Regions from separate parts of the Homo sapiens genome. Here regions 1 and 3 are each linked to region 2. Evidence: promoter capture Hi-C in 16 types of primary human blood cells and fetal thymus (Javierre and others, 2016). All regions are on one chromosome and are shown on one strand. The core of a region is centred on a gene start or on the middle of the fragment in contact, and the rest is flanking DNA. Distances in the headings are between cores, read along the strand shown. Region 1 overlaps NUFIP1 (nuclear FMR1 interacting protein 1). Region 2 holds the start of SMIM2 (small integral membrane protein 2). Region 3 holds the start of NUFIP1 (nuclear FMR1 interacting protein 1).

Evidence for each region. Contacts are between HindIII fragments. The CHiCAGO score rates a contact against its expected background, and 5 or more counts as called.
Region 1: a contact is called between a fragment that was not itself captured here and the fragment with the promoter of SMIM2 in region 2, in 1 of 17 cell types (M2 macrophages). The highest score is 5.6, in M2 macrophages.
Region 3: a contact is called between the fragment with the promoter of NUFIP1 here and the fragment with the promoter of SMIM2 in region 2, in 10 of 17 cell types (activated CD4 T cells, M0 macrophages, M2 macrophages and 7 more). The highest score is 9.2, in activated CD4 T cells.

Annotation. Positions count from the first base shown.
Region 1 is chr13:44,967,707-44,971,273 of GRCh38, reverse strand. All of the region lies in intron 5 of NUFIP1 (nuclear FMR1 interacting protein 1), which reads left to right. Among named protein-coding and RNA genes, the nearest start is that of NUFIP1, 20 kb to the left of the region's middle. The HindIII fragment of the contact is 948 bases long and covers 869-1,816 here.
Region 2 is chr13:44,159,616-44,162,720 of GRCh38, reverse strand. It overlaps SMIM2 (small integral membrane protein 2), which reads left to right and starts at 1,464. Exons shown (of 3, transcript NR_197392.1): 1 at 1,464-1,576; 2 at 1,790-2,118. RefSeq lists an enhancer at 2,333-3,105. The HindIII fragment of the contact is 6,510 bases long and covers 1-3,105 here.
Region 3 is chr13:44,987,635-44,990,805 of GRCh38, reverse strand. It overlaps NUFIP1 (nuclear FMR1 interacting protein 1), which reads left to right and starts at 1,335. Exons shown (of 10, transcript NM_012345.3): 1 at 1,335-1,781. The coding sequence starts at 1,370. It overlaps GPALPP1 (GPALPP motifs containing 1), which reads right to left and starts at 1,268. Exons shown (of 8, transcript NM_018559.5): 1 at 1,064-1,268. The coding sequence starts at 1,151. RefSeq lists enhancers at 522-1,158, 1,085-1,274, 1,465-1,534, 1,159-1,797. The HindIII fragment of the contact is 7,208 bases long and covers 1-3,171 here.

The DNA.
Region 1 (3,567 bases), core at 93-2,592, 810 kb before region 2:
AAATGGGGTGAAGATGGCAATTTTGGATGAAGTTTATTTATACCTGTGATGTTGCTTTGTTTAGTAAGTGCTCTGAAAATTCTTTGGGCACTGGGTGAGTTCATCTGAGGTTCTTCCATAGTTTGTTTCTCAGGTTCTTGCTCTTTAATATATTCTGAAGAGTTCATATATATTTTTTCTGTATGTATATTTTATTAGAGGATATGGGAAATACTGCTTTTCTTTTGGTATGTTTGATAGATTTCTCAAAAATGCATAAATACTATCCCCACTAGCAATTTTTTAAAAACCTATTATGGGCCGGGCGTGGTGGCTCACACCTGTAATCCCAGCCCTTTGGGAGGCCAAGGCAGGCAGATCACTTGGGGTCAGGAGTTTGAGACCAGCCTGGCCAACATGGCGAAACCCTATCTCTACTAAAAATAAAAAAAATTAGCTGGGCATCGTGGCACGCACCTGTAATCCCAGATACTTGGGAGGCTGAGGCAGGAGAATTGCTTGAACCCAGAAGGCAGAGACTGCAGTGAGCCAAGGTCGTGCCACTGTACTCCAGCCTGGGCAACAGAGTGAGACTGTCTCAATAAAAAAACAACAAACAAAAAAACCCTGTTACAAAAATATACTTACTTTCTACATTCCTGTCATTCTCAATTTTTAAAAAATATTACTTGAACTCCTAAAAAGAGTAAGTTCCACATTGGTGTGGCAGAATAGTCCTTATTTCATGAATTTGATCTTTGTGTGAGAGCTACATTCTTTCCGATGAAGCCACTATATTCTTTGACATGCAGGAAAAATAAGGTCTTTATGTAGTTGCTCTGTTAGGAAAAGCTTGTGAAAGATTTCACAGAGTAAGAATTTTAAAGCTTAAAGAAAACTGAAGGTTTGCTTGGCATATGGCTTCCTTATCTTTGACAAAAGTACATCTTTGTCCTTACTTCTACATCTCTGTATTTTTCAGGTTAGTCAGACTCAGGGGTACCGAGTGTATTTAATTTAATAACTTTTAAGGCTTTCCATTAATAGCCTTTCCCCTACCTCCCCAAAAAAGCCACCAAAAAAAGTTATTCTTTCTTAATTCCTGTCCTATGTAGTACCAATGCTGTATGATTTGGCTTTAGGGAAAATGAGTGGTAGAGGTTTGTTTCCAAAACCTTGCTTTTATTATAGAAACAGTGGAACATTTTTCACAGCAGACTGGGAGTCCACTAGGTGGAGTAGTTTTACAATTTATTTCAACGCTTACTGTGGCTCTGAGGAAATCCTTTTGTTTCCCTGGTTCATGCAGAATTCCAACACAGGAGATCTGCTCTAAAGAATGCTGTATCTTTTTGATGTTCAGAAAGAAAAGTACAATAGTGTAGCTTGTGTGGAAGCAGTTGTGGTTTAATGAGAGTGGGAAGAGTAACTATGTTTTATAGAACAGGCAGAGGGGAAAAGCCAATAAATGGGTCGTGATTTGAGCATAAGGAAAAAATTGGAGAGAATAATGTGACCAGAATGGTCTGTGCTAAGATAATGGTTAGGACGGTTTGCCCATGTGTTGGCTCTGTAGTGCTTAAAGATTGTCACTGGAGGCATAAGGTATAGGCAATGAGGAAGGTGAAGAAGAGGTAAAAAATGAAAGAAGAGAGGAAGGAAAAGAGCATAGTTTCAGGACCATTTCCTCTTAGTGAACTGAGGAAAGATAGAAGTACAGGGAGAAAATGATTTTAGTAGATAAAAATATAGAAAAACCAACTGTGAAAATTTCCCTTGTCACGGTCTTTATAACTTCATATTATCCATTCTCTAACAGGAGATATTGGACTAAGCTTTACATGTATGTAACTGCAATGTAAGACATAATTTATGTTTTTTCAATAGTCTTTGGATTTGTTATTTCTTGTACTTTAGGAACCTGAACTCCTTCATCAGAACTCCTTTTTTTTCGTTATTCATTTATCTCAGCTTCATGTTGGTGGAGTGGGGCTTCCTACTGTTGTTTATGTGTGTAATTAGGTCTTGTGTTTCTGATTTTTCTTTTTTGCGATAATGTGCTTTTTAGCAACCATTTTTCTCTCTAGTTTTAAATATCTGGATTCTGTGTAAATAAGAATGTAATAAATTTTGGAAGAGGATTTTATTGATTTCAGCACCAAGAAAAATAAAATCTTACAACTTTTTAAAACTCTAATCTTACTTTTAGGAACATGATACTTAATTTTAGGAAGACAAGTTTCCTTACCTTTAGGAACATGATATTTAATTTTAGGAAGTTAAGTTTCTTTACCTTTAGGAACATGATACTGCAGTCTGCCTGAAAGAGAAAATTAGCTGTTTTAAAAGGCTTCCATCAAAGGAGTTTCTACACATCACATCTTTGATGTTTCACTTAGGGAACTCTTTCTTATATCTTACCTAAAATCCACTTGCTATAACAAGTTTAAATTCTTTACCAATGAAAAGCAGTTACCTAGCATCTGCTCTCTGGTACGTAGTACACTGTAGTGCCAAATTTTATCATGTAACATATAGCCCAACATGGTAAGAGTCTGCAATACTCTGCAAAAATGTTGAAGAAACTTAAGTAATAAGTAAATTTGAGAATTGTGGAGGGTGTTGAGTAGCTGTGAGTTACATGTCTCGCCACTGTGAGGCCTGTAAAAATCATTACTGTTTTTCTCATTTCTACTTCTGCATATTCTCTTCAGTTTGAGAACAACTGGACCATCCTCTCTGTAAAACTATTTTTATTGTCGCTTCTCATCTTCTTTTAAAGGTTGCAAATAGTTCCTTTCATCTTTCTTTGGAGGTTTTATTTTTCATCCTATTAATCATCTTTGAGTCTCTTCTGAATCCCTTCCAAGTCTTTTTTTTTTTTTTTTCTTCTCAGTGTTCCTTTAGTTTAGAAGTACAGAACTGGACACAGTGCCCTGAGATTATCTGACTGCTTTTGAGTATCCTGGAGGAAGATTTCACACTCGTACAAGTGCCAGAGTCTACTTCTTATAACCTTAGATTATGTTTGCTTTCGAAAAATGTAGTCATGTATTGCTGACTGTCAGATTTTTATCTCCTATGACCTTGATCTTTTCCTTTTATGTTTATTTATAGTTTGTACATTAATCATCTTTTTTTATGGAGTCTATTTTTCTTGACTGGATATATATTGCTTCACACTGTCCTCATTGAAATTCATTACATTTTTTTTCTGATTACTTAACCACTTACCCAATGTCATTTCCATTCCTGTCTTTCAGTATGGCCCACCCATAGGCTTTATATATTGTCTGTGCTATTCAAGTCAGTGTTGCAAATGTTAAAAAAAAAAAGGCAGAAGGTAGAGAAGTGTCCTAGAAGCAATGGCAGAACACATTTGTTGATGTTTCTCCAAACTTACTCTGATCAGCAGCCAGACGGGGTAGTAGAGAGCTGTGTTCCCTTCCTTCTATGTTTTTTATACTCCTAGAATCTATTGCCCTCTTCCTGAAAGTTTGGTGTCTGCATCTCCACACAGCTGTGCAGAGAAACAAAGAAAGCAGTTCATCTGGCACACTTCTGTCAGATTTCATCTTAATCACTGCT
Region 2 (3,105 bases), core at 215-2,714:
GAGCAGCCGTGTCAGAAGTGGGAGCCCTGGGCATAGAGCCTTAGGGACTTATGGAACATACTGTGTCCTCACTAGGCTGGAGCAGGGACTATGGTTGTGGATGCCATAATTGGTCTGCTTTGGAAAGGGCTTCCTTTATCTCCACCAAAGAGATATCACCAAAGATCTGGGGGCAGCTTGGCCAGTCTATGTGCTGACTCTCTGCTGGAGCTGTCTCCTAATCAGGTCACTGCTAGAGTTCCTCTTCCTAAATGTCCCAGTGCCATGACTTTGGTGCTCTAGCTTGTGGGATTGAATCAATCTAAGAGTCCAGAGTCTATGAGGACTCCTTCTTCTCTATTGTATGCTGCTGTCTGAAGCTAAATGCTATTGTACAAGTTTTGTTGCTGTTTAGATTTTTTTTTGTTCCCAGATTATTGTTCCAAAAATAGACCTACGATATATTCTTATACATTTGAATTTAATTAAGAACCTTTTTCTCAATGACATAAATATGGTTTTACTATTTCCAGCCAGGCCAGACAAAGATGCCTGAAGACAGATTTCTAAATGATGCTATGTGCCAATTTCTCTGATCTTTTTAATATTGTAACTAAGGGGCCTTGCTCTGAGATGGTGGTTTACGATTTTGACATGCTGTCCTGTACCACTCTCTGATCACAAGGGAATACGTAGAAACTCACCAAAGCAACTGCTGTCAGTCATCAAAGTGGAGCCACATTGTCCCTTCTAACCTCATAAGGATCCTTATGGGATTCAGGATGATCACATTTTCAGTGCTCTAAGGACTGTCTCCGTATGACCCCAGCCATACCATGCCCATTACTGATGTATTTGACCTGTTGAGCCTCCAACAGCATTGCAGACTCCACTTTTTGTGTTCCAACAGGACTAAGGCCAGAAGCGAATGTCCTATTTTTTCCTGCCATTTCTCTGCTGAGCAACAGTTCACCCTTGAAGCTGCTGCTGCCTAAAGAACAGGAGAAGATTCAGGAATGCTAACAATAGTTACCTACATATCGCATGCCCTCTGCCCTTGCCCATTGTAAGAGCCTCACCACTTGGATCAGTAAGAGTCCACACTTGCTCAGTACATCTTGGTGCTCACTTCAGCTGTGGGCTCTGATTTAAACATCCAGCTCAGGGGATGCCTCTTTGGTGCATGTCATAATCAGGAGAAGAATGCTGGCTTTGGATTCTGGAACTGACTCCATTTGTAGTGAAGAGTTTGGAGAGCATCAATAATGGGATGGCAACATTCATTCATTCATTTATACCTCTAACCAGTCTTTCCTCACATACTGGTTGAGTACTCAATACGTGCCCTGTGCTTAGCTGAGTACTGTTCAATGGTGAACAAAGAAGACATGGTCTTAACTAGAAGTTCCTATTTCAACAGAGTAGCCCAAGGAACTTCAACCACTTTTGCTACAGGTGTATTAGTTACTGCCAAGAGTCTGTAAGTGTTCATGGGCCTCATTAAGCTCTGCCTTCCTTCTGCTTTTTGGAGCCTGGCCTTTGGTTGGCCTTGAATGAAGAGTGGGGCCCCAAAAGTACCACTGTCAGCACTCTCCAGGTGAGTATTATCCTGGGAGAGGCCAGGGCATGAGGAGGGCCAGGGCGTGGGGCCCTCTGAAGGCTGTGTCATCCCAGGCTTCAGCCACAGAGGTTTTATTACGGAGGAAAGCTGAGCTGTGAGCACGTTGCTAGGCTGTGGCTATTTATTTTTATAAACGAGCCTTGTGCTTAATTTAGAAACCTGCTTTTTCTTTTTCTTTCTTCTTTCCAGCATCATCTGGCTGTCTGGCACCATCAAAGAATTGCATTTCTGACCCAAGAAGAGCTTATGGGTGGATGGGGGTGGGATGGAAGCTGGGGAGAGGATTGATGCCAGCCAGCTGCCTCACAGGGTGCTGGAAACACGTGGCCATGCCATTAGCATCCTGTTCGGCTTCTGGACGAGTTTCATCTGTGACACCTACATAGTCCTCGCTTGGATCAGCAAGATAAAAGGCAGCCCTGATGTTAGTGCCTCCTCTGATGAGCCATACGCCAGAATCCAGCAGAGCAGAAGGCAATGCCACGCAGAAGAGGACCAAAGTCAGGTGCCAGAAGCAGGTGACATCTCCACTCTCAGTTCTTTGGAGGCAGCTATTTTAATAGAACCACTTTACTGCAGCTATTTTGACATGAGGATATTTTGGTATGGCTCAAAGATTCAGCCGATAAATGTTCAGCTTTTTAAAAAATAAATGATGAGTAAAATAGGCATCTTGCAGGCCATCTGTGAGCTTCACCTCAACCTTGATCTTCACCTCCCCCCCTCCATTGTCAATCTTACCTCCAGGCATCAAGGGTGTATGGATTGGTAACAGATGAAGGAAAGGACTGGTAGAGGTTCAAAATGAAAGAAATAGCAGGTCAGGACTCCAGGAGGGTTGAGGGTCTTTTAAAGTAAAACAAAACAAACAAACAAACAAAAAAACAGGGTCAACCAAATTCAGAAGTCAGGTAGAAGTCAGAGAAGGAATGAAAGATGGGAAACTGGTTATAAACCAAATACAGCGAGTCTGAATTTTGGCTTGTTTTGAGGCTGCTGTATCAAAACAGTTGTGTTGGAAGAGCTGCATGAAATTGTTGGGCAAGAAATAGTCCACTCATGATTCAGATAAGCTCATTTTGCCTCTTCCATGGTCGATTTCTGACTCATAAATGTCTATACATTTCACTTTACGGCTTATGTGAGCCTCAGTTTCCCCACATAAAATGCAGATGATGATGTTGGCCCTTCCTCTTTCCCCACCTTTTGCTCTCCTTCCAAGTGGCATGATGAGGAATGAGCCAGCATCTTGTAAACTGCTCCAGGCCACCTGGAGAAATGTGCTTGCGTAAATAGTCGGCATTAGTATACGTGAGTCTTCCATGAGTAAAGAATTTCAGAGTTGGCAGCCGTCTCTGCCTGGTGATTCATGTGGGCACGATGATGCCCTTAGCTACAATGTATGGTGTGGGTGATGAATTTGTTCTTGTCACAGCAGAGGACTGAGTATTCTTTACCCAAATGCTATAGATTGAGTTTGCACATGGGAACTAGATTAGCTCTGA
Region 3 (3,171 bases), core at 86-2,585, 830 kb before region 2:
GAAGGCATAATTTTTAAAGTGGTTATGACAGAAATTATATTGGAAAGGGGCCTGTAGTAGAAACATAGCCTCCGGGTAGACCAGGAAGAAAAATTAGATTCAGAAATGGCAGGGTTACTCTTTCAGCTTTACTCTTCTCCAACTGGGTGTCGGTGCTAGTCTACAAATGTGAATAAACATTAAAGCAGATAGGTATGCATGCCGGAATCCGAGAAGCATTCGTTTCGTATATACCAAGTGCCTGTTGCGTGTTCAGGTAGAAGACCATAGTGCAATGGTGGAGACAGATTATGTCGACAAATTATTCAAATACAGTGTACTAAATATGCAATGTAATTAGGAAAAAACCCGAGGGCAAAAAGAAAGGCATGACAATGCTTCGGGGAATCTGGAAAGGTTTTATTGGTGTGACATTTAAGTTGGGCCTTGAAGGATGGGGAGAAGTTTGTCAGTTATGTTTAGGAATGCAACCAGAGGAAGCCCAGAAGCCTAGAGCGTTAAGGAATTGCGCAGCAACTCAGACTGGATTGAGTATTGGGCTGTGTTTGTCAGATGCAATAACAGAATGAGAGGCTAGGAAGGCAGGTCGGGGGCTGGAGAGAACAGGATCTGCAAGGTTCTTGTAATCAGAAGGCAATATGGCACAGAGGTTAAGAGAACCGCTTCCTTCTAAGTCGCGCTCCATCACTTGCTAGCAGTATGATCTAGACACTGGCATGGGCTTGGGCGTACCCATTTGCAACATGGGAAAATAGTTTTTTTCTTATACGGCTTAAATGACTGAGTGGGTATCAGTCAGTTAGGGCAGCGTGCAGCTCATATTAAGGCTAAATGAGAATGTATTATCATCACGAAGCCAAACCACGCCAAAGCTCGTTTCTAGGAGGGTCCCCCAGCCTCCTCCCCCCTGCTACTGTTTGGGAAGAGAAAAGTTCTCTCGGGTCAGGCCGCGCCCACTCCCCACTCCTCCGCCCTCCTAGGCCTCCGACTTTCTTCAGCGAGCAGGGCCCGGCCAGGGAGTGGGTAGATGGGCCTGGTGGGCAGCGGAGACGCCGCCGCTTACCAGGGCTCGGGTCCCGCTCTTCGTCCTCCGCTGTTCCGCGGGCCTTGAAGCCGGGCGGCAGGGCCGGTCCGATCAGGTCTCTTGCCATCCGCGGTGGCGGACACTGGTCACAGATATGAGTCTATCCACGAACGTCAACCCTATCCAAAAAGAATCCCGCGATCAGCAGCGAAGAATGGCAGGTTTCCCGGCGCCGAGAAATGACGTAAAGCCTGTGGTTGGCTGAGCCTTGTAGTTCACGGTAAAGGAAGTGACGCCTAATGCTTGCTCCACAGTCGCGTGCTAGACTCCGGACCCGCCAGTGGTATGGCTGAGCCGACTAGTGATTTCGAGACTCCTATCGGGTGGCATGCGTCTCCCGAGCTGACTCCCACGTTAGGGCCCCTGAGCGACACTGCCCCGCCGCGGGACAGCTGGATGTTCTGGGCAATGCTGCCGCCACCGCCACCACCACTTACGTCCTCGCTTCCCGCAGCCGGGTCAAAGCCTTCCTCTGAGTCGCAGCCCCCCATGGAGGCCCAGTCTCTCCCCGGGGCTCCGCCCCCCTTCGACGCCCAGATTCTTCCCGGGGCGCAACCCCCCTTCGACGCCCAGTCTCCCCTTGATTCTCAGCCTCAACCCAGCGGCCAGCCTTGGAATTTCCATGCTTCCACATCGTGGTATTGGAGACAGTCTTCTGATAGGTTTCCTCGGCATCAGAAGTCCTTCAACCCTGCAGGTAGGCTATTTTTCCACGTGAGTCGACCCCTTTACCTTTTTCCCCCGTTCTTTCCTCTCCCCTTTCTCTGCTTCCTCTCTCTACTCTGCCTTGCCTCTGCACTCTTGGAGTCTGGTCATTAGCATCTCAAAGCAAAGTGAGACCCCCGTCTCTACAAAAAAAATAAAATTAGCCAGGCATGGTGGCATGCCTGTGGTCGCAGATGCATGGGAGGCTGAGGCAGGAGGATTCCTTGAACCCAGGAAGTCGAGGCTGCTTTATCAACTAAGTTTATATAATATTGTAAATCCTTTGTTCTCAAAATATGTCTGACTAGAATGTTTTCCTGTTGACTGTTAATTCCATTTAGCAGTTATTTATTGAATTCCGACTATGTACCAGAATCTGGGTATATAGCAGTGAGCAGAACATACAAAAAATATTATGGAGCTTAATATTATCTCTCTTGTGTAGGAAGACAGACAATAAGCAAAATAAAATATTGTGCATTAGAAGGTTGAGTGGCATGGAGAGAGATAAAACAAAGAAGAATGGTAAGTAGTGCAGGATTTTCTTTTTTTCTTTTTTTTTGGAGACAGAGTGTCGCTCTGTCGCCCAGGCTGGAGTGAAGAGTAGCGCGATCTACTTCACTCCAGCCTATGCAGTCTCTGCAGAGAGGCTCACTGCAACCTCTGCCTCCCGAGTTCAAGCAATTCTCATGCCTCAAACTCCTGAGTAGCTGGGACTACAGGCCCACGCCACCACACCCGGCTAATTTTTTATATTTTTAGTAGAAAGGGGGTTGCCCCGTGTTGGACAGGCCTGTCTCTAACTCCTGAGCTCAGGCATCCGCCCGCCTCAGCCTCCCAAAGTGTTGGGATTACAGGCATGAGCCACCACGCCGGGCCAGGTAGTGCAGTTTTAAATGTCATTGTTAGTCATAAGGAAGGTGACATATGAGCGAAGACTTTAGGGAGGTGAGAGATCACAGCCATGCATACAACTGGGAGAATAGGGGTACGGGCAGAAGGAACTGCAAGTGCAAAGGTCTTGAGGCTTAGAAGCTATACATCAGAATGGGAACCAGTGTGGCTACAGAGGACTGAGTCTGGAGTATAATTGTAGAAGATGGGGGAGGAGGGTAAGACCTGGTATGTCTTTGTAGATCGTGGGACTTTGACTTTTACTGTTGTGAGGTGGGTAGTACAGCGGATTGACATGACCTGATTTACGTTTTAAGAGGATTAATGTGTCTGTTGGTGAGAACTGACTGAAAGGGAAACCGGTTAGGAAGCTATTGTAGTTACTTTTCTAAACAAGAGATATTGGAGACTTGGACCAGGGTGAAGCCCAAGGGATGGTGAGAAGTAGTTGGATTCTAGATCTGGGGATACCTTGGAGCTCTTGTGGG